Regions from separate parts of the Homo sapiens genome. Here all the other regions are linked to region 5. Evidence: promoter capture Hi-C in 16 types of primary human blood cells and fetal thymus (Javierre and others, 2016). All regions are on one chromosome and are shown on one strand. The core of a region is centred on a gene start or on the middle of the fragment in contact, and the rest is flanking DNA. Distances in the headings are between cores, read along the strand shown.

What was found. Contacts are between HindIII fragments. The CHiCAGO score rates a contact against its expected background, and 5 or more counts as called.
Region 1: a fragment that was not itself captured here is called in contact with the fragment with the promoter of BCL11B in region 5 in 1 of 17 cell types (naive CD8 T cells); the score reaches 6.4 in naive CD8 T cells.
Region 2: a fragment that was not itself captured here is called in contact with the fragment with the promoter of BCL11B in region 5 in 2 of 17 cell types (M1 macrophages and fetal thymus); the score reaches 5.8 in M1 macrophages.
Region 3: a contact is called between a fragment that was not itself captured here and the fragment with the promoter of BCL11B in region 5, in 1 of 17 cell types (naive CD4 T cells). The highest score is 5.4, in naive CD4 T cells.
Region 4: a fragment that was not itself captured here is called in contact with the fragment with the promoter of BCL11B in region 5 in 1 of 17 cell types (fetal thymus); the score reaches 11.3 in fetal thymus.
Region 6: a contact is called between a fragment that was not itself captured here and the fragment with the promoter of BCL11B in region 5, in 7 of 17 cell types (activated CD4 T cells, total CD4 T cells, naive CD4 T cells and 4 more). The highest score is 12.1, in activated CD4 T cells.
Region 7: a contact is called between a fragment that was not itself captured here and the fragment with the promoter of BCL11B in region 5, in 1 of 17 cell types (fetal thymus). The highest score is 5.8, in fetal thymus.

What each region holds. Positions count from the first base shown.
Region 1 is chr14:97,698,046-97,702,152 of GRCh38, reverse strand. No RefSeq gene overlaps it. Among named protein-coding and RNA genes, the nearest start is that of LINC02291, 13 kb to the right of the region's middle. RefSeq lists an enhancer at 4,087-4,107. The HindIII fragment of the contact is 2,073 bases long and covers 837-2,909 here.
Region 2 is chr14:98,148,577-98,152,422 of GRCh38, reverse strand. All of the region lies in intron 2 of LINC02295 (long intergenic non-protein coding RNA 2295), which reads right to left. The region is part of intron 1 of LOC105370655 (a long non-coding RNA gene); the gene reads left to right. Among named protein-coding and RNA genes, the nearest start is that of LINC02295, 15 kb to the right of the region's middle. The HindIII fragment of the contact is 456 bases long and covers 1,604-2,059 here.
Region 3 is chr14:98,013,197-98,017,132 of GRCh38, reverse strand. No RefSeq gene overlaps it. Among named protein-coding and RNA genes, the nearest start is that of LINC01550, 37 kb to the right of the region's middle. The HindIII fragment of the contact is 2,358 bases long and covers 1,317-3,674 here.
Region 4 is chr14:97,795,058-97,798,754 of GRCh38, reverse strand. LOC105370651 (a long non-coding RNA gene) reads right to left here. Exons shown (of 5, transcript XR_944186.4): 5 at 1,185-1,375. Among named protein-coding and RNA genes, the nearest start is that of LINC02312, 34 kb to the right of the region's middle. The HindIII fragment of the contact is 1,711 bases long and covers 1,042-2,752 here.
Region 5 is chr14:99,269,925-99,274,101 of GRCh38, reverse strand. It overlaps BCL11B (BCL11 transcription factor B), which reads left to right and starts at 1,905. Exons shown (of 4, transcript NM_138576.4): 1 at 1,905-2,941. The coding sequence starts at 2,884. RefSeq lists a silencer at 1,979-2,058. The HindIII fragment of the contact is 13,366 bases long and covers 1-4,177 here.
Region 6 is chr14:97,990,438-97,994,636 of GRCh38, reverse strand. No RefSeq gene overlaps it. Among named protein-coding and RNA genes, the nearest start is that of LINC01550, 14 kb to the right of the region's middle. The HindIII fragment of the contact is 2,116 bases long and covers 1,674-3,789 here.
Region 7 is chr14:97,773,357-97,777,176 of GRCh38, reverse strand. LOC105370651 (a long non-coding RNA gene) reads right to left here. Exons shown (of 5, transcript XR_944186.4): 3 at 3,095-3,248. Among named protein-coding and RNA genes, the nearest start is that of LINC02312, 12 kb to the right of the region's middle. The HindIII fragment of the contact is 2,252 bases long and covers 881-3,132 here.

The sequences.
Region 1 (4,107 bases), core at 624-3,123, 1.6 Mb after region 5:
TGTGCAACCTGCGTGCAGATTCACAACAGCCTGTTCGAGATCTGCCAGGAATCTCTCTGTAACGTGATTAAGAAGAAAAGTTACTCAGGAGACCTGGTCACACAGTATGGATCATATGAAGACTTTGGCCACTGTGAGTCATCCCAGAAGCAGCAAATAATCTATGGCAAGCCTTCTGGTCTATGTACCTGGCACCATCAACCTTCAGATGTCCTTAAGTGAGACCTGGGCACCTCTGCAAATATTTCCTTTTCCTTTTTCTCAACACCCCTTTTATATTTAGGTAGGCATTGCCATTGCTTCTGCTACAGTTTCTCTAATATGTCTTAATTTAGTGATGAGTAATTTTTTAAAAGATTTATTAACATATAATTTATTTACCACATAACTCATCTTATTTAAAGCACACAATTCAGTGATTTTTAGTATGTTCACAAGTTTGTGTAATCATTGCCACAATCTAATTTTAGAATGTTTTCCCCTACTAAAAGTAGTACTCCCAAATGTATTAGCCATCAATTCTCATTTCCCCCATTTCTCCACCCTCACCCCAGCCCTACACACCACTGATCTACCTTCTAGCTCTATAAATTTGCCAATTCTGATCATTTCATATAAACAGAATCATGAGATATGTAGCTTCTTTTACTTAGCGTGATGTTTTCAAAGTTCATCCATATCATATCATATTTCATTCCTTTTTATTGCCAAATAATATTCCACTTGGTTGACTATATAACATTTAATATATCCATTTATTAGTTAATGGTTATTTGTGTTGTTTCCATTTGGGGGCTATTATGGGTAATGCTGCTATGAACATTCTCATATAAGCTTTTCTGTGGACATTTGTTTTTACTTTTCTTGGGAATACCTAGGAGTGGAGTTGCAGACTCTTGGTAACTCTATGTTTACCTTTTTGAGGAACTGCCAAACTATGTCCGAAAGTAGCCGTGACATTTTGCATTCACACCAGCAATGTCTGCATACTCTTACCAACAGAGGTTACTGTCTTTTTTATTCTAGCCATCCTAATGGGTGCGAAGTGATACTTATGGTCTTAATTTGCGTTTTCCCAAAGACTAGTAGTGTTGAACAGCTTTTCTGTGCTTATTGGCTATTGATCGATCTCCTTAGGAGAAATTTCTATTTAAATATTCTGCCCACTTTTTTAAACTGGAGTATTAGTCTGCCTTTCTATTGCTGACTTGTAAGAGTTCTTTATATATTGTGGATGTAAGACCCTTGTCAATATTTTCAAGTATCTCTTAGCAAATAGTTTCTCTCATTCTGTGGGTTAATCTTTCACTTTTTTCAATCTTCACTTAGTGGCACAAAAGTTTTCCATTTGAATGAGACCAGTTTATCTTTTTTTTCTTTGCTCACTTGTGCTTTCCATACCATATTGACGGCACTGTTGCCCTGTGTATGGTCATGAAGAACTATGCTTATGTTTTCTTCTAAGCGTTTTATAGTGTTACTCTTGCATTTATGTTTATTTCCATTTTGAGTTAATGTTTGTGTAAAACATGTGACTGAGTCCAACTTCATTCTTTTGCATGCAGATGGCCCATTGTACCAGCACTGTTTGTTAAAAAGAGTATTCTTTCCCCATTGGCTGGTCTTGATGCCAATAATCAATTGACCACAAATGCAAGGGTCCATTTCTGGATTTTCATCTCAGTTCTATGGATCTCTATGCCTACCTTCATGCTGGTGCTTAATAAATTCTTCACATGCCTACTAACTCTGTTTAGACCAAGGGTTGGTGAATTGCAGCCCTGGGAATCCAGAGGCAGATGAGTTCTCTGGGTCTACTTAGGCAAGTAGTAGTCTTTTTCACACCAACAGAAGAGTACCCAGGGAGCAACTTCCAAATTGTGTACATCTTGATGTCTTTCATTTCTTGTTAAAAATACTTAACAAATTTTCCCTTTATCCTGAAGGAAAATCCAAACTTTAGTAGACTTCATAAATCTTCTCATAATATGGTTGTGGATTGCTTCTCCAGGCTTACACCCCAAAGAAGATTGCATAAAGATGGCCGTTCTGCATGGAATGGAATTCTCTGCAGAAGACACACAGAAAACACGGGCACACAGCCAATATATTCTACTTGGAATCCGGGATACTTGCTTTGCCCAGTACAATGTAGCAAAACTTGGTGCTGGACAGATTCTGAGTTCAGACCTCAAAAAAAACATATAGGCTCTGATTTCTCTTTTACAACCCTGATAAGTCAGAAAATAAGAAAGCCTGAGATAAACTGCTGGATGATTGGTTGCCATGTTGAGAAGATAAGAGGCACTGCATCTGACAGCAGCCAGTTTCCAGAAAACCTAGCACCTGTCTTCAGATGCATGAGTGAGGCCCAGCCAAGATCAGCTAAGTCTGGCTTAAATTAGCAGAACTACCCATTCCAAATCTGAGCTCATCTCAGGTTGCTGACCAGCAAAACTGTGATCCAAGTAAGTGGTTTTTGTTTTTTACGTCATTAAGTATCAGGGTGACTTGTTACTCAGCAAAAGCTAACTGATACAATCCTCTTAACCTCACACCATTTTTTTCTCACTGTTAAACTTTTGCACATAGTGTCTTCTTTTCTTAGAAGACCTTTTCCAATCTCCTTATCTTTCTACTCATCTTTTAAGCCTCTTCTCTGAGGAGTCTTTCGTGGTGCCCATACCTGGGTAAATAACCCTTTCCCTGAGCTCCCAAAGCTCCCTAGGTTCCTTCTAGCACTGCCTTGTTACCCTGTGTTTGACCTTCTCATTTACTGGTCATAACTCCTCCCCTGCAGACAGTAGAAAGTACCAGCATGCATAGCTGAACTTCATTACTGCAGGCCAAGTGTCAAGATTCATACTTGAATATCATAGGAAGGTAGATGTAGACATATCACTGAAGCTTGAGAGGTCAGGATAAACAGCCTGGAGGATATTACCTCTGGAGAAATGTCGAAGTTGGTACAACCAAGTGTTTTCCAGGTAAAAAGGCCCATGTGAAGAGCTTCAGGAAGGAGAGAGAGAATGCCATATTTGAGGACTGGAATGCGTTCAGGTTTTTGTCTGATGGGGTAGAGCACAGGTAAAGGCCAGGAGTCATCAGGAGTCACCGGCAGACTAGGATCAGCCACCTGGATCAAGTCAGCCAAACCTCTCCTTCCTTTCAGTTCTGTCTATTTTCTTTATGCTCGTTCTTTGGACAGAATACAGTTGTTTTGAAAACCTCAGTCTGATTCCACTAGGCTAGGAAGAACTAAAAAGTGGATTCAGTTTTCAAGTGGCTTCAGCAAGTTCTTCCTTTCCTGGTATCCAGGCCAGTGGCAAAGATTTTCTTCCCAGATTAACAGCAGGGAGAGGAGAGGTGTGGCCCAGAAGTGTGTAAATAGAGCACTAAGGCTAACAAAACCTGGGGAGCTGACTCTCTGCATTTGCTCCGGTGTCTGGTGGGGCGCAGGCTCCTCTCCAGGTGGTACTAATAAAATGAGGCTGGGATAATGGGATAAAAGCCCAGAAACATAAAAGCTGCCTGGAGGGGAAAGGGAAGAAGCAGTGGGGGGATACTTTCCTCCCAATGTTAACTGTTCCCACATTAATCAGATTCAGGTATCACAAATTGGTCTTGTCTGCTCTTCCAGGAACATTAAGGGAAGCCGCAACTCCAGAGTCATGGGTCTTTAAAGCAGGAACAACCCCTTTAATCAAGTGGCCTAGCCTCTCCTGAGAGAGGCAGAAAATGTAAGGCTCAGAGAGGGGCAGTGCCTTGGGACAGTTTGCACAGTGAACAGATGCCCTTTGCTTTCCTTAACTAGACTATAAGACGGCTGAGGGCAGGGACCTGATCTCTGGACTAGCTTCATATCACCATGCCTCACACACTAGTGGTGTAGATGGAAATACAATCCAACAAAATGGCAAATGACAAGGTCATCTCATGGGAAGGTAAGGGTTGTAAATGAAAAGAGTGAGAGCACTGTGAAGGTGACTGGACAGGGAAGCACACTGTGTGGTGTTTAGAATGGGAAGGACAGGGTAGGGTCAAGCTTAAAGGATGAATGGGAGCTCAGGGAATTCTTAGGTCTTACCAGCAGGAAAGGAGAACCCT
Region 2 (3,846 bases), core at 582-3,081, 1.1 Mb after region 5:
AGTGGTAAAAATGAGATGAAACAGACCTAAAAGATCTTTTTATGCTAACTAGAGGAAATAACAGGTGTATAATCTCAGGCATAAGGTGGGACTTCAACAAGGGTGAATCCTTCCCTTTCTGCCTCTGAAGGCAAATTTATTCCTATCGTCTTTTTTTATGTGTTTGTTTTATCTCAATGCGGTGGGAAAACTTTGCAATACATATTCAAAACCACTTAATTATTCTTCAAACTTTATTTTGTGTATAACACTTATTAGTTACATAAACAATCATGACTTTGAGGTGCCCTTATACCAAATGTGCCAGAACACCATGGTTCTTTGTCCTTATATTTTCTAATTTTTGAAAACAACACTTTTTTGTCTTTCTCTTTCTGGTTGGCCTGCTAATAACCAATTCTCTGAGTAATAACACTTTTATCAGCTACTGCAGTCTCCTATCCTTTTGAGCAAGCTTAAAAAACAAGTGATCATTATAAAATTTATTGATTCTGAACTAGAGTTTCCCATATAATTAAAGAAATTGTCTCTTGAAAAGACTGGGCTGTGCTGAGGACAGTTGAGGACTCAAATGGGCAATGCACACATAGGGGTGTTCAAGCCCTGAAGTGCGGAATCAGAATAATGACATTTAAAGTCCTTCACATTCTCAGATTGAATGACTCACAAGACCAGTTATTATACTGTAATTTATTCCAATCCTATGCCGTCAGTTGAATTTCGAATAAAGAATTCATCAGTATTTACGTGAGTGCTTAGTAAACCTCTGAGAAATATTTCATGCAAGGTGTTAGGTCACCTTGCCTATGACTGGGTTGTATCCCAACCTTTTTACCCATCCCCTCTGGTTCCCACTGGAGTGAGTGTGTGTCTTTCTGGAGCATGGGGCGATCTCCAGTAGGCTTGTCCTCAGCAGGGTGTTCCAGTTATTTTAGGTGGCCTCATAGGCCTATGTCACCTCTTTCCAGATTGCTCACACATCTGCTGTTTCTTGCAGTGTCAAACAGATAAAACCATTTCTTATGTGTGCTGTAATATAAGAAAGTTAGGCAAGCACTGCTAGATGATCCCTCAACCTACAAGAGTATCTGCTGCTAATGCCTATGGTAAGGATGCCCTTACATGGTGTATCTTCATATTCGCCTCTTCTTATAGTAAGACAAAAGGAAGGCATGACCTTCCTTGCTTGACTCTAATATCCTGGCACATCATCTAAGAAGCTCCCCTAACACACTCTTGCTTAAACCATTTGCTCTTTTGCTTCATCCAGTTTGCCAAAGCAGAAGAAGACAATGTAGGTAGATTATGGATTAGATTATATGATCTGCAGTCCAACAAGACTGTATGATTTATCATCCTGATACTTGTTAACTATGTTACCTTGGACACAGACTTTCTTCATTTCTTTAGGTCAGTTTCTTCATCTTTAAAATGGCACTATTAAAGGAAAAGATGTGTGCGTGTGTGTGTGTGTGAGGAGAAAGAGAGAGAGAAATGTAAAAAGCTAAATATTGATACAATTTAACCATTTTAGAAAGTACCATTTAATGCCTTTACTCCTTTACCAGTGAATCTAAAGACATACTCAAGTATTAAATAAGCTTTCTCTGGAAACACACTATATGCTAGAAATAAGAGATTGAAAGACAGATATCTATTTTATGACCCATTACCTTATTGATCAGTGGGGGAGAAACATAATATGTAGATAACAAAATCAATTTTGTTCTTTGTACATAAACATTTACTTCCTCTCCACTTTTGCAGTTCTGAAGAGTTTATATCCCATTTCCTTGACATTGAGGTTGATTGTATGATTTTCTTTGGCCAACAGGACGTTTAAAAAAATGTAACATTAACCTCATTTATGTAAGAGCTTTTAGAGGCAGTGAGAGTTTCAGCCAACTCCCTTATTCGTGATATCTGCCATGAACAAACAATATTCAGCAGGCAGGGGCTCTTCCTTTAACCTGGGTCCCAGTATGAGAAGACCCAGGAAGCAGATCCTCATTCCACTAGAAGATTGGAGGGGAGCCTTTGAGCACAGAGCTGCAAAGCTTCAGCCTACCTAAGGCTGGCATGTAACATGGGGTAACAAATAATTGGAAGTTATCTGTTACACAGCATCATTACAGCACAGCTGACAGATACAGATAAGAACACAATAGTTACATATTATAAGCCAGGAAGTGTAAGACTATTGAAAAGTATTTAGATCTATCCTGAGGTGACAAGGAGAATTTCTTTCTTTTTTTTTTTTTTTTTTTTTTTAAGATGCAGTTTCACTGTTGTTGCCCAGGCTGCAGTGCAATGGCACGATTTTGGCTCACTGCAACCTCCGCCTCCCAGGTTCAAGCAATTCTCCTGCCTCAGCCTCCCAAGTAGCTGGAATTACAGGCACGCACCACCACGCCCGGCTAACTTTGTACTATTAGTAGAGACAAGGTTTTGCCATATTGGCCAGGCTGGTTTCAAACCCCTGACCTCAAGTAATCCACCCATCTCGGACTCCCAAAGTGCTGGGATTACAGGCGTGAGCCAGAGCCGAGCCAGGGAATTCATAGAGAGGTAACATTGGAAGTGTGGGTCAAGAATGATGGCATGAAGAGTACATTTGTTTAAATGCTGACAATATATTTGGTGAAACATCAAATATGTTATCAATGAACAGTCCACCAGTCAGCTTGGACAAAGGGCCAACTAGAAAAGTGTGTTCAATGAATAAGTCATCTCTTGTGCATTTCTCTTGAGTTTGGGCTCTGCAATGGCACAGAGATTGAGGACATCATTCTGGCCTTGACTTGCTTTGAGTTCTTTCAGGAATTCAGACATTGGTTTGTAAATCCAGAGTTTAAGCTCAATTCAATTTTGAAGAAAACACAAAATGTGACCTCAGCATCAACATGATCCTTGTAGAATTTCCTAACACAAACTAATACCTATCTAGAAAATCACAAATGCGTACTTTTGTTGAGGTGCTTATTCTTAAACAGGTTGTTATATGCATTTGAACATGAGATACAATTATAATATTTCTTTATAATTCTAAGTCTCTAATGGTTTATGTTTATCAAGCTTGTTCAACGTAAATTTTTGAGATATATGTACAAGAAATTGAATGCTGTCTCTTTATTACTTGCTATTATATGACTTGGGGAAAATCATTTAACTTCTCAAAGACTCAGTAGTCTTATCCTAGAAACTGGGCAATTATTTCGTATGTAATGTTATTATTTTGAAAAGCAAATGAAACAACACCTGTAAAAGTACCTGATGTAAAAACAAGTACTTCTTATCCTACCTCTCTTCCTTTCTTGAAATACATATGGCGTGTGTGTATTTTGTATGCATTAAATACTGATACGTGTTCAAAACCCAGCCAAAAGTTAGAACTTAGGAAAAAAATGGGCTGGGCACGGTGACTCATGCCTGTAATCCCAGCACTTTGGGAAGCTGAGGTGGGCAGATGACTTGAAGTCAGAAGTTCTAAACCAGCCTGGCCAACATGGTGAAACCCATTTCTACTAAATATACAAAAATTAGCCAGGCATGGTGGCGAACGCCTGTAGTCCCAGCTACTCAGGATCGCTTGAGTCCAGGAGGTGAAGGTTGCAGTGGGCCAAGATCGCACCACCGCACACCAGCCTGGGTGACACAGCAAGACTTCATGTAAAAAAAAAAAAAAGACTCTATCTAGGTAATAAAGAAACATGTCTCTATTATCGGCCAATGTTTTCTTATTTGCAGTTCTCTCCTTCAAAACCTCTAACTCTGGATATAGCCCCATGCATTTCTCATAGCCTTTGTCTCATGTCAATGATGATCACTTTAAACATAAGGGTGGGT
Region 3 (3,936 bases), core at 1,246-3,745, 1.3 Mb after region 5:
CGCATTCTCTCCTCTTTTTCCCTTTCCTTTCCTTTTCCTTCCTTTCCTTCCTTCCTCCCTCCCTCGCTCCCTCCCCTCCCTTCCCCGCCTTCCTTCCTTCCTTCTCTCTCTCTCTTTCTTTCTTTCTTTCTTTCTTTCTTTCTTTCTTTCTTTCTTTCTTTCTTTCTTTCTTTCTTTCTTTCTTCTTTCTTCTTTCTCTCTCTCTCTTTCTATCTCTTTCTCTTTCTTCTTTTATTGAGGGGGTGGTGGTGGGTGGCTGAACTGAATCAAGTCAGGCTGGGACCAGCTATGTGCACAACTACTTTCCCATCTTCCTACAAAGCCTATGGGGGAAGAATTTTAGGTTGCTGTGTCTGGTTGGCCTTTGCCCTCTTGGGTGTAACAATAACTTATTGGGATTCTATGACCAGGAAAAAGATTATATAAACATTCTGAGCTAAACCCAGATGAAGCTAGATGCAACTATTTTAGACATCTTGGAATTGGATGGATTTTAAAAAAGCAATCAGGGAAGAAAATGGAGGCTTAGTGAATTGCACGAGGAAGAGCACTGACTGGTAGGTGCCTGGGCAAGCCTGGACAGGTGGGAAAGTGGGGAGAGGACTGGGAGTTAAGAGCATGGGCTTTGGTCCTAGCCCTGGCCCTGATCTTAGGTAGGTCACTTTTCTTTCCTGCTATGGACCTCAGTTTCTTCAATTCTAAAAAAAAAAAAAAAAGCAATTGTCTAAGATCAGGTAAAATGCCTTAAAGTCCGAATTGGTTGCATATTCATCTATTGATCTTTAGGAGACCTTCTGCAGCTCAGAAGTGATAAGAATAGAAAAAGGCCCTCTATATACAAGACATCTTTTTGCAGATGAGGGTCTTGTCAGTTACACTACAGATATGCGATCTCATAGGAACCTCATGAAGCATTGGTTCTAATGGAAAAAATGACCTTTAATAGTGAAACTTGACAGGAAGCTGAGGTGGGAGGATTACTTGAGGCCAGGAGTTCAAGAGCAGCCTACACAACATAGCAAGGCCACATCTAAAAAAATAAAAGAAAAAGGTTTCCTGGTGTGGTAGTGTGCACCTGTAGTCTCAGCTGAGTCGGTCACATAGGAGAGATTAAGTAAATGCCTGCAAAACAAATAAATGGAAAAGCAAATTTGTGAATGAATGAAGGAATTACTAGGAATGCATGAAATCCTATGGTAGAACACACTTGATTAGGGAAAATACAACAAAGCAGTGGCAGTGACAAGATTAGAATTCAGAACCAGCCTAAGAATTGTTGAGATAGTATTGCTAAGCTAAACCTTTCAAGAGAAGCTTTGAATTTAAGGCAAATGCTAACCAATGGAATTATACAATGATAACTCACCTTGGGAAAAAAATTAATTTTCATGTTAGCTAATAAAGCTGATAGCATTTAGATGGACTTTTAATGGAGAAGCCTAAAGGGGTAAAACATCTCTGACTATTTATTCTTAACAAAAGTCAAAAATTAAAATACAATTTTCACTGGTACGTTGCTGAGGCCAAATCAACTGGAAGTAGGTATTTAAGGGTTTACTCTTTAATTTTAATTTGTTGAAGGCAGTCTAGTGGAGGTAGTTACACATTGGAGAGTGAAATTGGCAAACCCCATTAGTCACACAACAAAACAGCCATGAATATGGTTTCTCCAAAGACTTTCTCCAAATGCCTCTCCCTCAAAACCGGGCCTCTATCCAACTTCAAACAGGGAGTCCCAGCTGCCTCTCTTTGTTTCCAGACAAGCACCGTCCATGAGTTTCTGATGGATACACCCTGACCTCCTTTCCCCAGGGCTAGGAAGAAAACACTTAATTCCTTAGTCCCAAAGCATCACCTTTCTCTTTAAAGTGTGCCATTGGAAACAGAGCCTGTGGCTCAAAGAAAACTTGCAAATCTTCCAAGGTAATATGGCTTGACAGTGGCAAGCCATAGTTCTTGATGATGGCTTGGAATATGGACTTGAATGTTAGCTTTAGACAACTGTAGGGGAATTCAAAGTTTGCTCACAGCCATGCTTCCTCAAGATGGAATTTGAACAAAGGATGGTATTGAGCAATACTAGAGCAACCAACCAGTCTCTCTAGGAAGGGCTCACACTCTTAGTGAAATCATTGCTGGATCTTAGAGGCCTAGCACTGTCCCCTGGCTTCTGGCTTCTCAGTGGACAGGAGAGTCGCCTACAGTAGGTGGTCTGCCTCAAGAGGATCTTCCCCAGAAGAATGTGAAATTCAGTGAAGCAAGAGGAAGCCTGACTGGGTCACATATGTATCATGAGGGTCCACTCAGAGCCTAGTAGCAGTGAGATGATGAGAAGATGGATAGGTGAGTGAATGGATACATTAATTCATTCATCTTTTCTTTAGAAATAAAGGGCATAATGGGCCGGGCACGGGGTGGCTCATGTCTGTAATCCCAGCACTTTGGGAGGCCGAGGCAAGCAGATTGCCTGGTCTCAGGAGTTTGAAACCAGCCTGGGCAACATGGTGAAACTCTGTCTCTACTAAAACACAAAAAATTAGCTGAGCGTGGTGGCACATGCCTGTAGTCCCAGCTACTTGGGAGGCTGGAGGCACAAGAATTGCTTGAACCTGGGATGTGGAGGTTTCAATGAGCTGAGATCAAGCCACTGCACTCTAGTCTGAAGGCTCTGTCTCCAATGAAACAAAACAAAACAAAACAAAACAAAACAAAACACCAAAAAAAAGAGAGAGAGAATACGCTTTTTTTTTGTCTGACAGACAAGGGTGCAAAACTAGTGTTTAAAACCATGCTCTGCTGAGGACCTGAGATTATTGATCTACAGATTTTCATCTGTAAAATGAAAATTGATGAAATGCTATGGTGTTATTCCTAAATTAATGCCTGTCACATATGAAAGAAAGAGAAGAAAGAAGGAAAAAGAAAGAAAGAAAGAAAGAAAGAAAGAAAGAAAGAAAGAAAGAAAGAAAGAAAAAGAAAGAAAGAAAAAGAAAGAAAGAGAAAGAAAGGAAGGAAGGAAGGAAGAAAGGAAGGAGGGAGGGAGGGAGGCAGGCAAGGAGGGAGGGAGGCAAGGAGGGAGGGAGAGAGGGAGGGAGGGAGGAAAGGAGGGAGGAAGAAAATCAGTTAGCTTTTTGCACCCCTTTTTAATTTTCCAGTCTTCACTGTCAGGACTCTATCACCTATTTACCTACCCAACAAGTCCCACCACTAACTATGGGATTTTGGGTGAGCCATTTAATATTTCTGAACTAAATTATTTTAAAATGAGGAAGGGAGCCAAGTATGGTGGTATATGCCCATTGTCCCAGCTACTAGGGAGGCTGAGGTGGGAGGATTGCTTGAACACAGGACTTTGAGGCTGTAATGTGCTATGATCTCACCAGTGAATAGCTACTGTACTCCATCCTGGGCAACATAGTGAGACCCTATCTCTTAATTTTTTTTTTTTTTTAATGAGAAAGGTGATGACTGTCTCCAGCGAATTTTAAGGAATACTTGAATTCTATAAAATTCTGTAAATTCAGTAAAATGCTATTTGACTCTGAACGATTGATTTGGTATTGATTTGTCTTGGTGTAACCTAAAACAAATCTGGGATTTCTATAGAGGCTTGAGGTCATGATAGAAGTTCTTAGTTTCCTTCAGGAAAGTTGAAATCTCTAATATGATAAGCTTATATTAATTAACTAGGGAAACCATTAGCAAACACAGTAAATAACCAAATACCAAATGCTAAGTTCAGGGTTTAATTGCCCCACCTGTATTCACAGAAAGAGCAATCCATAAAAATACAAAGGGGTGGAGTTTGAGTCTGGGTTTAGAAGAACCTGCCAGGCAGCTGGTAAAAATTGCCTTTCTAGGTGAATAAATGAATTAAATAAATAAAAGAAGTTTTGGCACCCCAATGAAAAATAAACCACCGGAGGGTTAACATAG
Region 4 (3,697 bases), core at 648-3,147, 1.5 Mb after region 5:
AGCTTTGAGAGTCCCTTAAACTTTTGAGGATATGTTTTTGACAAGTCATGGAGCAGCCCAAAGGGGAATCCAGCCTAGGATAGGGCAACAGCCTTGGCAAAGGTTTGGAGGTGGGAGGGGAGGCAGAGCCTGCTCCTTAACAGCTCGGGTTCTCTTAGTGAGAGCTGGGATGGATGAGCCTGCACAGTGGCCTCAAACCGCCGCTTTGGGTCCCCACACAAGATGCTGCCTGTGGGCCCTGAGAAGCTGGTGCAGGAGGCTGTGGGAGGAGGTTGGGGTCTGGAATGAAAGACTGCCACGTTAGAGATACACAGAAGGCAGAGAACAAAGAGAGAGACGCTTGAAGCCAAGCAAAGATAAAACAGCTGATAGAAGACAAAGCCCTAGAAAGGCAGTATTGGGGCCTCTTCACCATGCAGCAGGACTGACAGGTGGGCATCAAAGGCGGACGAGGCAGGCTGCAGAGTGGCTCAGGTGCTAGGCAGCTCGGGGCGCGGGGCTTTGTTCAGTCTGACTGAGCAGTCAGTCTGCTTATACTGAAAATGCACTATGCTAAGCAGAAGGCAGTCCTATATTTAGATTTTTCTTTTAATCTTGAAAGAGAAGAAAACAGTAACAAAGGACTTCCTTGTCAAATCCTAATGCAAGTTGAACTTCTAAAGACTTGGAGGAGGTGTTCATGACACCAAAGATTTTACAAGCACTGACACAGAAAACTGAAGTAGGGGGGAAAAAAAGAGGCTTCTCCCCTTTGTGTTTTTGCTTGCCACCAGAGCCATGAGATATCAGCTCAGTCTCATGGGGAGTTTTTGTGTTTAAAATTTTGCACAATATTCGCAGCTGCATTTGATCCTATGGTGCACTCCAGGGTGGGGGTTGAAAGGTCTTTCCTTTCACAGGTCTGAGCCTTGGAGAGGTCCAGGGTGTTCCTCAGGGTTAATCAGCTACTGAGTGGTAGACTCAGACATGAAGCCCAGGTCAACCCATCCTGGTCCCGAGGAAGTAGAGATGCTCGCCTCTGATGAAACAAGGCCACAAGCTTTGAAATCCTACTTAAATTGAAGCCCAATGTCATCCTTTAGGAGCCAAGTAATCTTGAACAAGTCTCCTATCCTCTCGGAGCCTCCATCTCCTGAGGGACAAAACCAGCATCTATTTGAAGATTCAATGAGGTAACCCACATGCCCAACATGGCGCCTGGCACCTTGTGATGGCAGCAGCTATCCGCATGAACTGATAGGACCCAGATGACAGAGTGGGTGGTTCTGAACAGAGAACTTCTCCGGGAGTGTGGAGCCCTGGCTGGGTTCTCGTTCCTTGCAGAAGGGCTCTCTCAACACTTCTGTTGCACCGGGATCCTAATAGTCTGTGAAAACTGTGGTAGGAAGAGATATTGGGGCTGAGGTCTCTGAGGTTTCTGCTCTACAAACAGGAATATTTTGCCCTACTTTGATTTAGAACAAGTGGAAAAAGGAGACAAGAAATCAAATCGTTCAAAGCCAACATATCTCTTATTGTTACCAGGTTCAGGGAGAGGGCAGAGCTCAGAGTGAGAGGCAGATAGACCTGCTAACGGAACTCCAGGAAGAGGCCCATTTTGCCTCCAACCATAGGCTCTGCTGGACTGAGGCTCACCTGTCCATGAGGGCAGGCTAGGGAGACCCTGCTTCTTGGAGCAGGGAGAATGTTTTGTTCTATGCATACTGCCATGCATATTCAGGAAAGCAGCAGAAGGAAGCCAGGAGAGGGATGCTAAGATGCTTTATTCACCTAGAAGGAAAAGTAAGAAAGGAGAAGTAGCATTGTCCTGACTTAAACCAGATTAGCATGCTCCTAACACAGTGGGCTTGAAAATTCTGTGTGTGACGCCACTGTGCCCAGAAAGAAGGTGAACAGATCAGCAATCTATCTGGTTGATCCGTCCCACATTCATAGGCTCCTTGCCTGATACCAACCCCATTCTCCTGTCTGGGCCCCTGGGGCTACTGGGGTGCAGTTTAGATTTTGCCACTAGAAGGCTCTGAGGTGGGTTAACAGCAAGGAGGCTTCATCTGTCGAGGCTGAACTTGACTCATTTCTCTCTTCCTGCTCTGAAAGATCTCCAGCTGCGTTGCCAAACCAGCACAGACCCTACAGGGAGATGAATGACCCAGGAAGACAGGAAGGTAACAAGCACACAAGGTCACTCCACTGAGCAAACGGCAACATTTGAGCCTCCCCAAATTTGAATATAAACCTCTCCTATTATCAAGGTCCCACTGAGAAGGTACAATTTGAAGATTACATCCCCTTGCAAGTTGGATCCCAAAGAAATTAAGGACTGATATCGTGGGATTGTTGGTCCTTTCAAGTTCAAAGTTCAAATCTCACAATTCTTAGGTGAAAGCGCCAGAATTCTCTTCCCTGATTTAATTTGCCCCTCAGCCTTGGCTTGGGATTCCTTGAGCAGCAACAGCCTAGGTCATTTTCTGCTGAAATGAGTGTGGTTACTTTAGGACTGAGAGGAAGGCTTGGTGCCACGCCAATTCACTTAGGAGCCTCTCTCTACTTAAAGAGTTGAAAGAGTTAGTAGGACACATAGGACTGAGAAGGCTAACACTGTTTTCCTCACCACAAAATGCCAAAAACATTCCAACCCCCAACTCTAAGGCACTTTCTCTTAGTTATCCCAGAAAAATGAAGTTTCCCAAGCCCAGCTCTTAATATCCAAGACTCTACAGCAACTCTGTGGAGAGGGCAGTGGAGAAAAGCTTCCCGGTTTTGCCCCATTGGGTTGCAGTTCATTCATGTCAGTCATCTGGATCCCAAAAGGTGGCACCTTAAATTCAAATGGGGAAAATCTTTCTTTGACAATTTAATTTGCACAAGGTGCACTTACCACCATGGAGAGGAAGACCTATTTTGACATCTTGTCTGCATTCTCAGAAAGGGTCGGCTGCCTTTCCTTTCCATTGGAGAATTCTAAACCTCAGAATTCTCACTTTCCCTCTTGGCCAGTGTTCCTCCTCCCACTATATTCAACTGAGGTGGGCTCTGTCTAGTGGGATTCTCCCATGCAAACAGGAATTTTCTGTCCTGGGGCCCAGTGGTGGATTGCACTCTCCTGCTATAAAATGACTTAGCAGGGAGACACATGTCACCAGTCCACATGTTGGCTCTCACTGGAGAATGATGCACAGGACATCACTACCCTTCTGTTTCTATACCCACCCTATGAACCTTTGGGCCCACTGATGCCTAAGTCTCTGCCTGAGCCGTGATTTCTCAGCCTTGGCATGTCCCAGACATGAGTAGCATCTCTGCCATTTCTTTCTCCCCAGTAGTGAGTTAAACCTCTATCCTCCCTTTAATCATTTCAGAGAAACCAGCTAGTTGTAGAGCTCTGGATGAGCACACCTGGCCTTGACCTGCACCTGAGCTTGAACATTTCTCTTCCCGGAGGGCACACAGTAGCCAACCACTCTGCAGACAAATAGCAGTACATGAGCCTTCCCCTCATGTGTGCAGAAAGGCCTTATCTCTACTAGTCCAATCTTTGCTTCTATCATGCTTGTTTAGGAAGAGCCATGCCTGCCCCTGGAGCTGCTACGCCTGTGGAGGGCCTCTACCCTCGCTGAGGCCTTTGTCTCCTGCACATGTATTGTTCAAGGTCAAGGTGCACCTACTGCTGCCTGTGACCACTCAGTGCCCACGCCTT
Region 5 (4,177 bases), core at 656-3,155:
TTTATGAATGTCTTAAAGAAGTTTATTAAAGGTGCGTGTGGGCATATTTTTTTTAAGCCACTTTCCTGGAAAGATTTTCCCGGTGAGAGGGATGGCAGAAGAGGGAGGCCCTACTAGACTTTGGACCACGTGGAGGTGGGGTGTTGGGGGTGGGCAGCCGGGTGCAGCCTGCCCGGCCAGGGCGAGGAGGTGCAAGTCCGCGCCCCGCCCCCGGTCTCCATCCGCTCGGCCTCGCGTCCGCCCACCGTGGAGCCCACAGTTTACAGAACTGCAAGCCAGGGCACATTTTATTGTTATTATTTTTTAGGGTATGGGACTGGAAGGGATCTCTTTCTGTTCTCGCTCACGGACTCTGGGCGCTGTTAAATTGTTGGTGCCATCGCCCCACCCAAGACCTTCGGGACGAAAACAAAAACCCCCGTGTGCCCCCCGAGGAAAAGGCCCCGAGGGAGGCGGCGCTGAGGCGTCACGGCCTCGCCATGCGCCCGGGTGAAGCCGCCGGAGCCAGGCCTGGGGGCGGAGTGGGGTGGGTGCAGCTGGACTCGCCCGCGAAGCCTAGCCGGAGCCAGGCCCCGACCCGCCCTGGCCGCCTCCAGAGAAACCCTGAGAAGGGAGAGGAGGCCAGCCGCGTGGCGCGCCCAGCCCTGGAGGCCAGGTCATCAAATTGACAAAGTTGGCCACAGCCTGGGGAATGGGGGGTGTCCACGGGGGCCGTGGTCTGGCCTTGTCCCCGGGCCACGGAGAGGCCCCACAACTCCTCTTGTCCTCGCCGGTTGGAGATCAAACGGCTGACAAGGCAGCTGCGTCCTTCCCAGTCTGACAGGCATTTCCAAGTCCTACCCTGGGCCGAGGAGCGCGGGGGGCGGGGTGTGACTTCCAGGTTGCTGTGATTGTCAGGGGCGCCTCCTGGAGTCACCCACCCGAGTATCTGCGGAGATTTGGCCACACCTACTCCTGGGCTGGCAAGTCCAAGTCCCTCTCCCACGTGGAGCGCCCCGGTCCCTTTACCCTCTCGCTTGCCATAGACCCAGTTTAGGAGGTGGGGTCGTGTTTGACCCCAGGAGTTAATCGGGGTAAGGTGAGGGGAGGGGACAAAGATTTGAGTGAAAATCCTTTTCCAAGTGGGACTCAAACAAGGTCTCAAACACTTCTCACCCCCTCACGTGCTCTTGATTCTGTTGTCTTAGTGTCGTTTATTTTGTCATCCTCACCCTCCCAGAGTCTGTAATACCAGGATTTATATGGAGACACTTTTTGGAAGTTGAACTCCAACATCTACTCCCCTCCCCTCGCCGCCCGCGACCATAAAACAAAAGTAAAAACTACCAAGCGACTTTTCCAGGGAAACGAAGCGATTCTTACTGTCCCCCCAACTCCCATGTCGACCCCAACCCTTTTCCACAGTCCACGCCCCCACCCCCAAAGTCCAAGTCCGAAAGAGCTTTTGGGTGGGTGGAGACTTGCATTGATTCAATTTAGTTCACTCACACAGCACCCCGCCCCCCTTCTCAGGGGGTCCTGCTCCCAGGATGGAGGAGATATAAGGACGATTTTTCTTTTATTTTAAAATAAGCTGCCCAGTGGCCCCCCCCAACCCCCTCCCGCTGTTGCGCAGCCGGGGCTCGGGGGAGATGAGCGCACAAAAACGCGGTTTGCACGTGTGTCCGGCTTGGGCTGCGGGTGTGCGCAACTGGCGACTGTGTGTGTGTGTGTGTGAGTGTGCGCGCGCGCGCGAGTGTGTCTCTGTGTGTGCTTTCTTGTTCTCTTACAGGGTACAATGTTAAAAAGCCACCGCTAGTCGCCCCCAGTGCTCCGACTCTCTGGGTCTTTTTGTCTCTAGTGCAGATTAAACGTCACGTCCGCACTTGAACTTGAATTTTATCCCATTGTACAGAGGCAGCCCCAGCCATAGAGAGACCGAGAGCTCCCAGAGAACCCGGACTCCGCCATCTTCACGTTGCAATCTATAGCTCCCAGTCTGCGCCCGCACCGACCCAGGCGCACTGGGCGAGCCGCCCCTCCGCCCCGCTCCCCCCGGGCCCGCGGCGCCAGGGGAGCGCTGGGGAGCGCTCGCGGGGACTCGGCAGCCCCTCCGGCCGGCGCCAGCCTGCCAGGTGAACTGGGAAGGAGCCTCTCCTGGTGTCCCCCCAGAGCCTCGGAAGGGTCAGTCTCCGAGAAAAAACAAAAACAAAAACAAAAACAGGCAGCCCGCAGAAAACCCAGAAACAACCGAACCGGGGCAGTTTTACATTGCTTTGGGTTTTTTGAGGGGGCGGGGTGAGGGGGTACGAGACAAGTCCCCAAGTTTTCTTTGCTTTTTTTTTTCCTTTGCTTTTTCTTCTTTTATTTTTTTATTTGTTTGCATTTTTTTTCCCCTCCTGGTAGAAGTGCGCTTTCCACCTACCAGACCCTGAAAGAAAGTGTCAGGAGCCGGTGCAAAACCCAGTTTAAGTTCAAGAAGACATTTGCAAGTGCAAGAGGCCAAGCAGTTTGAAGAAGTGTAAGAGATTTTTTTTCCTTCGAAAGAATATATTTTTAAAGAAACCAGCCAGTCCGCGGAAAGCAACAGCAGTTTTTTTTTTTTTTGCCTCTTTTTCTTATTTTAGATCGAGAGGTTTTTCTTGCTTTTCTTCCCTTTTTTTTCTTTTTGCAAACAAAACAAAAAACAGCATAGAAGAAAGAGCAAAATAAAGAAGAAGAAGAGGAGGAAGAGAGGGAAAGAGAGGAAGGGAAAAAAAACACCAACCCGGGCAGAGGAGGAGGTGCGGCGGCGGCGGCGGCGGCGGCAGCGGCGGCAGCGGCGCGGCGGCGGCTCGGACCCCCTCCCCCGGCTCCCCCCATCAGTGCAGCTCTCCGGGCGATGCCAGAATAGATGCCGGGGCAATGTCCCGCCGCAAACAGGGCAACCCGCAGCACTTGTCCCAGAGGGAGCTCATCACCCGTAAGTGTCTGCGGAGTGCGCGCGAGGGGCCGGAGATGGGGCTCCGGGCGTCTGGGGCTGGGGACACCGAGCCCGGAACAGCCGAGCCTGGCCAGGCGCCGGGGCCGCCCGCTGGCTGGCAGAGTCTACGGCGTCGGCCTGGAGCATGGCGGGGGGCGGGGGCCATAGGAAAGTTTCTTTGCAGCCCGGGGAGTTGGGGCGCCGAGCAGCCGGACGCGCCTCGGGCTCGGGGGCCTGCGGAGCCGGCTCCGGGCCGGGGAGGGGGCATGCAGGCTGGAGGAGTGTGTGTGTGTGCGCGCCGAGCCCGGCTGGACGCTCGCCCCTCCGAGCGGCGTGTGTGGCGGCGGCGGCGCTGGTGGCGGGGTTTGGAGAGGAGGGGGAGGGGGCTGGGGGAGCGGAGGGGGAGGGGGAGCCGGGAAGTGGGGAAAAGTTGGCGAGCGCGTGGGTCCGCGCTGACGGCGCGGGCGGAGGAGAGCGGGGTGCGTTCCGGCTGGGGGAGCCGTAGGGCCAGGGGCGGCCGCCGGCTCCGGGTCCCCGGTCCCTGCGCCCGGCCCAGCAGGGTGCCGGCCGCGCCAGTCCTAGGATTCCGCAGCCGCCTTTCTCTCCCCTCCTCCTGCTATTTGCAAAATAATCCAGCTGCGCGGCTGTTTGCCGGGCTCAAGCCCCCCTCCCCACCCCCCACTTCCCCACCTCCGTCTGTCTCCTGGGATGATCTTGTCTTCTTTCCCCCACTTCAAAAAAGGTGGGGGGATTGGGGTTGGTGAAAAATCCCCGCCACGAGGAAAAAAAAAAAGGTTGTCAGTTAGGAGTGGGAAGAGAGTGATGCGCTTGTAAAATAGTAAAAGAAAAAAAAGAAAAAAAGGAGACCCATCAATCTCGTATCCATCTTTCTATCTCAGTATCTTTCATCTTTCCTATCTAAATAAACAAGGCAGGTCGCAGTGGAAATCCACCGGCTGAAATCGTGTCGATTTCAAGCATGTGGCTGGGCGGGCAAAGTCAGGCAGCGGGGCAAGACAAGCAGCAGCTTCCACCGTCCCTGTTGGGTTTATTTAGCAGAGGGGAAAAGCGAGCGCGAGCGGGCCAGGTACGGTGTTTGCAGGGGAACCCGCCCCGAGTCCCCGCACACTTGCACCGGGAAGGTGGCTTTGCGGCGCTCCCCGCCCGCCGCAGCCCGCGGGGCGGCTTCTTCGCTGCGCGCGAACATTTCCCCGCCGTTCTTTCTCTCGCGGTGCC
Region 6 (4,199 bases), core at 1,482-3,981, 1.3 Mb after region 5:
GTTTAATTTTACATTTTTTTAAAATGTGGCTAACAGAACATTTAAAATTACACAGGAGTCTCTCACTATGTTTTACTAGGCAGCGTCATAGTGGCTCAGAATTTTTTTTTTCTTTCTTACTCTACTATCAGGAAATGTACTCCATTTCTTCTTCTGCAACAGAGCCTGTGCTTGCCATCTCATTTTTACTGTGTGCACAGTTTCCTGTAGTAACAGTGGTAACGGTTCTCATAATGATGAAGGTTGTTTGTAAAACCCCACATCCTCGATGGCCTCTTCTTTACAAAATGTTCCCACAGAGATTCTTGCTTCACCATGTCTTTGCCTGCATGGCCAAGATGACTTGGCCCCACACAGGAGTTTCTGCCGGGCATGTCACCATCCCTAGGTCTAATTCAGTGGGGTGAATGGTCACATTCTCAGCCTCCTGCTCCCTCTGATCCTTCTAAAGAAGGAAGTGCCTGCCTCTCTCTCTCACCTTTCACCTGAGGTGATGTAGACACTGTTGATTCAAGGAGGTATTATTTCTTCCTGTTCTGTTCCCTCCAACCGTCCCCACACCACTTTCTTCTTTGTGACTCACTAAACCCATATAACCGACTGGGGTCCTATTTAACTTATGTGCATATTAATTTGGCAAACATTCATTCTGCATCTCCTAAACACCTGATACTGAGCTAGTGGCTAGGGATGGAAAGAAGAGCTTGAACATCGCCTTTGGTTGGCCTCAAGGAATCATAGACAAGTTGATAAAACACAGTATTACAATATATAGAGGCATCAGCTGAGGTCACAAAGTAGGTTGCCTAACACATCTGATGATGAAAGAGAAGACTCTCTAAAGATGTGTTCAGTTGAGTGGAAAGGATGACTATAGCTCAGCTAGGGCTTACTGTATTATTAGTATCATTATTGTTATTTTTGCTATCATCATCATTTTTTAAAGTTAACTGCAAAGGAATGGACTTAAGGAAGAGCATGTAAAATTTAGGGAATTAGAAACACAAGAGATGGAGAATGAGGAAGCTGCTCCTGAAGGCCCCAAAATCCGAGTTTAGGGATTCACATTTCATCGTAAACTCAGTGAGAAGTCCCACGTGGTACTCATAAAGATGCATGAAACAGTCAGCCCAGCATTAGGAATCCATCACTTTGGTAGCCATGGGGTAAGGAATAGAATTGTTCTTACCCTATGTGTGGAGAGAAGATCAGCCATGTGTCCAAAGAGTCCAACTGTTTTGTCTTAGAAGACACAGGCACAAGGTATTTGCAATTGTGTCTGCCTTCCTGTCATCTGAAGAAGGCCCCTCCTGGGGGTCCAGTGTTTGTCTGTGATATTATTTCCCACAGTCCCACCAAGCATAAAGGATTACATCGATGCTTCCTCTCATTGATGATGAGGGCAAAGGTGCTGGGTCCAGCAGGCACCTTGGGGAACTGGAGCAGATTTGGGGATCTGTCCTTCCTGGCCCCAGAGAGACTGGTTTGGTTCAGGGACCCCTGGGGCCCCATTTGAAAAGTGGCTTTTCTCATTTCCCTTTGATCAGGCAGTTCATGGCATATTTGGAAGGACAAGGAGTGATTTGTCTTCCACATGTGTTTTCATTTATTCCTCAAAGGCAGAGCTAAAGCATTAAGCAAGAATACAATAAAGTCCAGTGGGCAGACAAGCTTCAAACAGTCTCAAAGGGTATGTCTAAGATAAGCTCATTTGTTTATAATCCATGTATTTTTTAATAGTTTATGAAAAATACAGGTGGTAAACTTACATCTGGGTGAATAAGGGTAGAAGTAAAATACAATAATGCCAGGCATAAGGTCAATTCTGAAAAAGTTTCCATAAATTCCTGTGTAATTCACCAATGGGAGCCATTATTTAGGCAGGAGCTTCCTAGTAGCCAGTAAAATAACGAACAGTGTTTCATAGGTAATGGGTAAAAGAACACTTACTTCTGATACATAGAGCTAAGGGAAATCACACTGGTAGTTCTTCACAAAGGGCACATTTTCTAATTAAGTAAATAATGTTTTTAGTAATATTCTGACTGCCATTGACTATGGGTTTCAGAAGGTTATTTAAAATGATGCAAATTGACTTGATTTTCATAGCATTCCTTGACAGCCTCTGATGTACAAGGGTGGTAAACTGCAATAATGTGTTCAAATATTTTGCCGCCCTTCTCTGGATGATGCTACACCACTGCCTGTTGCTATGGGGTGTGTGGTGCAACATCCCAGGAAAGCATCTGCTCTCCCCATCCCAGTGGTACCAAGTTTGACCACATCATGTGACACACGCCACTCCCCAGAAGAGAATCTAAGGACCACTGCATCATTCTGCCATGAACTCATTTCCTTCTGCCTCAAGAAGGTCAAGTGCCAGAGAGGAGCTGTACATATTCAGCCCAGATCTCAGTACAAAGGAGACACAAGGAGGAGAGCTCCCATTGACCCACGATTGACATATATGCAAGCAAACAAGAAACCTTTGTTGTAGTCAGCACCTGAGATTTGAGGATTGTTTGTTACTTCAGCATGACCTGTTAAAAGATCTCATCATACTGCTTTATCATGACGGATGCAGCTTTATCAGTGCCTTGGGGTGATAGAGAGATATAAAAGACACAATTTTTACCCTCTGCAAACCTGCAATTTAGTAGAGTAAACTACATGTTTAAAAATAGGCTGAAGGCTGTAAGTGCCACCTTAGATTCTCAAAAAGTATCATGGGAATCAAGTCCAGATGCAAGAAAAAATATATACCTAAAAAGAAAATTACTTCCTTAAAGAGCAGATACTGAGAGAATGAGCAAGGTTAGAATGGAAAAGGTAAACTTCTGGGAGTAGGCATGGCAGGGATTTTGGGGGGAAGACTCTATTTAGCAGAGTGTGTCCTGGGAATGGAGAGAGAAACGTCTCAAATGGAGCACTCAATGAGAGGAAGATTATGATAGGAAATAAATTTGGAGATCAGAGAGCTGACAGAGAAGATAATAATTTTTAGTGCAGTTTACACTTAAGGTAACAAAGTTTATTGAGGGCCTGCTTTGTGCTAGGCATCGTCCTCAGTATTTTAAAAGTCTCACTTTATTTAATCCAAACAACAGCACTAGGAGACAGAGGTTCTAATTGCCATTTTGTGTAGAGATGAGGAAACTGAGGCTCAGTCCTAAAGCAAAATAATTAGCAAATTGCAGAAATAAAATTTGAACCTCAGTCTTCCAGGCTTCAAAGCCCATGTGTCTTTGTTGTCCAGGCATACAGATGGATGACTGAGGGTCTTCCATACCATGGTAATTATTGTGTACTTCACTTAATGTGCAGTGGAAATCTACTGAAGCCTTCCGAGGTTGGGGAAAAGGGTGACACTGATTTGGCCTGTGTTTCAGGAAGATAATTTTATTAGCCATGTTGAGGCCAGCCTGGATGTGGTGACTGGGAGCAAGTAACAGGTAAAATGCAGCAACAATAATTCCATATATTGGTCACTAATTGTCCATTTAGCTATCATATGGAGGAAGTTGACTTTAACAGGTCTTACAAATGCCTTCAAAGAGGGTTCACAGGCCCTATATCCCAAGAGATTTTTCAATTTCTTAGAGGTGTTTCAAAGAACAACAACAGTAACAGTCAGTTTTACTAACCATCTTCCCTTCCTGTTCAGTGGAGTTTGTATGTAGATCTACCTGAGACAGAGGGTTGAATCCTATAGACTCACAAGGCCCTTCCCATCTTGTAACCATAACCCCTTCACCTTTATTACTCATATAGACAAAACCTAATTAAGCTTTTTTTCTCCAGATCTCTGAGCATCTATATAATGAGAGAAAAGTGTTGGAATTACAATGAGAAGTGTGAGTCTTAGCATTTAGTGGCTTTCTGTGATATGCTTTTAGGACTTTTCCAAGGGAAGATGAAATAAACATCCTATACCCTGTCCTGGGAATCTGGTCTGACCTGAGACTAGCCCTCATGAGGATGCTGGCAGGGCAGAATGTTCACCATAGTAACACAAGCAAGGGAGAGGAGAAAGGAAGAAAGAAACTTTTGGGCATTTGTAGGGGTGGGGGAGGAATTTAGTAAAGCTCAATGGAGTAGGATAAAGGGGAGATTCCATTAGTTGGTAGGCTTTGATAATGAATTATATGACTGATCGGCCACTGTTTCAGCAAAGACAGATTCTTTGGATGGCACGGCCA
Region 7 (3,820 bases), core at 757-3,256, 1.5 Mb after region 5:
TTCTCCAAAGTAGGCCAAACTGCTCTGGGTCTTGTTAGGGAAGAGACCCAGAAACCAGCAGGACAGGAAAAGGCAGCTCTGCTGGTCTCTGAGAGCTGAGAGTGAGACAGCCCCAGGACAGCCCACAGCCCTGGAGAAGAGAGCCCTGTGGCTGGCAGTGTGGCTGGAGAAATGTCCAGGGGCCTGGATTCTGAGTCACTGAAATAAAAAGAGGGCTTTAGATGTCAGAGGACTGTACTAGGTGTCCTAGCAGTTGGTGGACCCATTCAAGCTTTTACTGAGCCTTTGAGGAGGGAAGTAATTTCAGATATCTGAAATTACCCAGTCCCCTGTGTGATCCTGCTTCAACTGTGAGGTGTTTAAAAAAAAAAAAGATTCAATGACACTCGTGAAAGCACAGTAGGTGGCCCATGCTTAGGACCATCACAATAAGCACGAGGACCCCTGCAATGAGATTTTTAGTCAGGGACAGAGATTGGGCTCAGCTCTAAATACAGCATGAGCCAATGAGAATTTATGGCCAAGGAGCAGGGCAGGGTCAGTGGATGCAGAGGTACTAAGATAAAACGTCAGCGGGGAGGATTCTGGCCAAAGCAACCCACTCATGTAGATGTCCATTCACCCCGTAGACTCTCATGCCTCATGCGTTTTTCAAATGTTGATGATCAATGTGATGTATGCAGGATTCTCACTAAAGACAAGCCAGGGTGATCAGGCAACACCCAGGGGATGATGGAAGATGAGGAACTTGATCAGAGGTTGAGGATGATCAGATATCAAGGGTGATGGGTTCTTGCTAACCTGACTTAGCAGGGTTCTTTGATAAAACTGGATTTTACAAGGAAGTACAGAGATGGGCTTAAGAGAAGGTCCAAAAGCTTGACTGAAGTTTGGACTAGCAGAACATATTTGTCAGAGGCCACCCTTGCCATGGGGCCCATGGTGATACTTTCTCCCTCAGGGTTTCCAGGAGTTGCCCAAGAGATGGAGCAGGAGGACAAGAGCCCTTCCCCACTCCTCCGCTCTTCCACTCAAAAGCCCCATCTGGCTGAGGGATGGCACTTTCCATTCCAGTCCTAGGAAGCCATGAGGAGTTAGGAATAAGTCCCCAAATGATGCTTTTGCATTCTCTTTCCCACCAAAATATGATCGACTGTTGAGACCTGCCTCAGACCTGAACCTGGCATCTCTACCATGCATCCCTGGAAAATAGCACATCCTCAGCAAAACCTGGGATACCAGCTCACCTCACCCCACCAGGATCCTCTGGGATCCTTGCAAGCCCCTTGCACTGTGATCCTTTATGGTCCCTGCCTTCTGGATACTCCTGTCACTGGGCAGTGTTGCTCAGAACCCTCCCTCCCCTGTATCTGTCTCTCCAGTTCAGCCTAAGTTCCTTGAGGGCAGGAGATATGCATGGTTTTAATTAGCACCACCATCCCTGGGGTCATGCCCGGTAAGTACAGTAATCCCCCCATCTGTATTTTCACAGTTTCAATTACTCACGATCCACCACAGCCTGAAAATATTAAATGGAAAATTCCAGAAACAGTTAATCAGTTTTAAATGTTGCATTGCTCTGAGTAGCATGCTAAAATATCATGCTGTCCTGTTGCATCTCACTGGGGCATGGATCATCACTTTCCACCATATTCCATGCTGTCTACGCTACCTGCCCATTAGTCACTTCATGGCTGTCTTCGCTATACTGACTGTCATGACATCGCAGTGTCTGTGCTCAAGTCACTCTTATTTTACTTCGTAATGGCCCCTCTGAGCAACGATAGTGGTGCTGGCAATTCGGATAAGCCAAAGAGAAGCTGTAAAGTGTTTCCTTTTTTAATTTTTTTGAGTTGGAGTCTCACACTTGTCAGCCAGACTGGAGTGCAATGGCACAATCTTGGCTCATTGCGACCTCAGCCTCCTAGATTCAAGTGATACTCTTGCCTCCGCCTCTCAAGTAGCTGGGACTGCAGGCATACACCACCACGCCCAGCTAATTTTTGTATTTTTAGTAGAGACAGGGTTTCACCATGTTGGCCAGGCTGGTCTTGAACTCCTGACCTCAGGTGATCCGCCTGCCTTGGCCTCCCAAAGTGCTGGAATTACAGGCGTGAGCCACCGTGCCCAGCCTGTAAAATGCTTCCTTTAAGTAAAAGGTGAAAGTTCTTGACTTTTAAGGAAAAAAAAAATTATATGTTGAGGTTGCTAAGATCTATTGTAAGAATAAATCTTCTATCTGTGAAATTGTGAAGAAGGAAAAAGAAATTCATGCTAGTTTTGCTGTCATATCTTAAACTGCAAAAGTTATGGCCCCAGTGCGTGATAAGTGCTTAGTTAAGATGGAAAAAGGCATTAAATTTGTGGGTGGAAATTATGAACTGAAATGTGTTCCAAATGATGGAAATAGGGTTAGGTACTACCCAGGGTTTTAGGCATCTGCTGGGAATCTTGGAACACATGCCTGGCGGATAAGAGAGGTCTACTATAGTTCAGTTAACATTCTTGTAAAAAAAGACTTTACCTCCAAATTCTCATAGATATACTCACTACCCAGGACAGTTTTCTAACTTTTCAAGAAGGCCTGAACTGTCAAAGCTCCTTCTGTGAGTGTGGAAAAGGGAGGCTATCCACCAGGTTTCTCGGCAGACATTCCAACCTTTGCCAACATGTAAGTGGGTATGCGAGAGAGGACGGAGGTTTTGAGGTTTTGATGCAAGACCAATGGACTGTTGTGCAAGCCAAGGTGGTGAATTAGTGACACCCAAAAGGTCACGCTGCCCTGAGTTCACGGTCTGGCCTCCATGCCCCCAAGTCCTGTCTCAGTCTGTGTGTTTAGGCTGGCTGGAGCCTCCCAGCTGTGCACCTGCCCCTCCTTAGACTTAACTGTACCAACGGGATGCTGGTGGCTGGACTGATTGTCTATCACTGTCTCATCCTTAGGCTTCTCAAATCTGGAGATGTAGATCATCAGAGGATGTTTATTACAAATATTAAAATCAAATGTGCAAAGCAATGAAGCTGCCCTGATATGCAAATATGCAATCTTTTCTCCTCTGCCCCCATGAGAAATCTAATAGGGTAGTGGACTTACAATTGGGTTTTGGACCCCACTTTGTCACTTATTAAGCTTGCAACTTTGATGAAGCACAAAATAATGGTGTCCTCTGCTCACGTCATCCCATCAGTCCTGGCTCATGATAGCTAGTCAATGTTGACAGTTTCCACTAGCGAGTTCTTCCATGGGCCTCAAAGAAAACAGATAAGTAAAAAATGAATACATATTTCATATGCACACATGCATGACTCATGTACGCGAACATTCAGCCCTGTATGCTCGAATGCCTAAAGTATTTTTCAAATGTTGATGATCAATGTGATGTATACAGTGGTGATTAAAAGCCTGGTCTGCCTTCAACCTCCCTGAGTTTAAATCTCAGCGCCCCCACCCCACCATGTACCAGCCATATGACCTGTGTGTGTCACATTATCACATTCCTTACAAGAGTGATGTGTCATCTACCCCTTGGATGATGCTTCCAGTTGCTAAGGACGTTGACCACTGAGCCAGATTTCTCTGAGCCAAATCTCAGCTTTGCACACTGAGACCTTGGCAGAACACTGACCCTGTCTCGAGCTCAGTTTCCGAATCTGTGGAACACAGGTAGCCGTCATGACTAACTCCTAGGGTTGCTGTGAGAATGAGATGAGTCAATACTTGCACCACTTTTAGAGCAGTGCCCAGCACCTCAGACTTTCTCTAAGGGTTGGCTGTGTGGATTAGGTGGGATTCATGGGGATGAGAGAGATAAAGCACTTA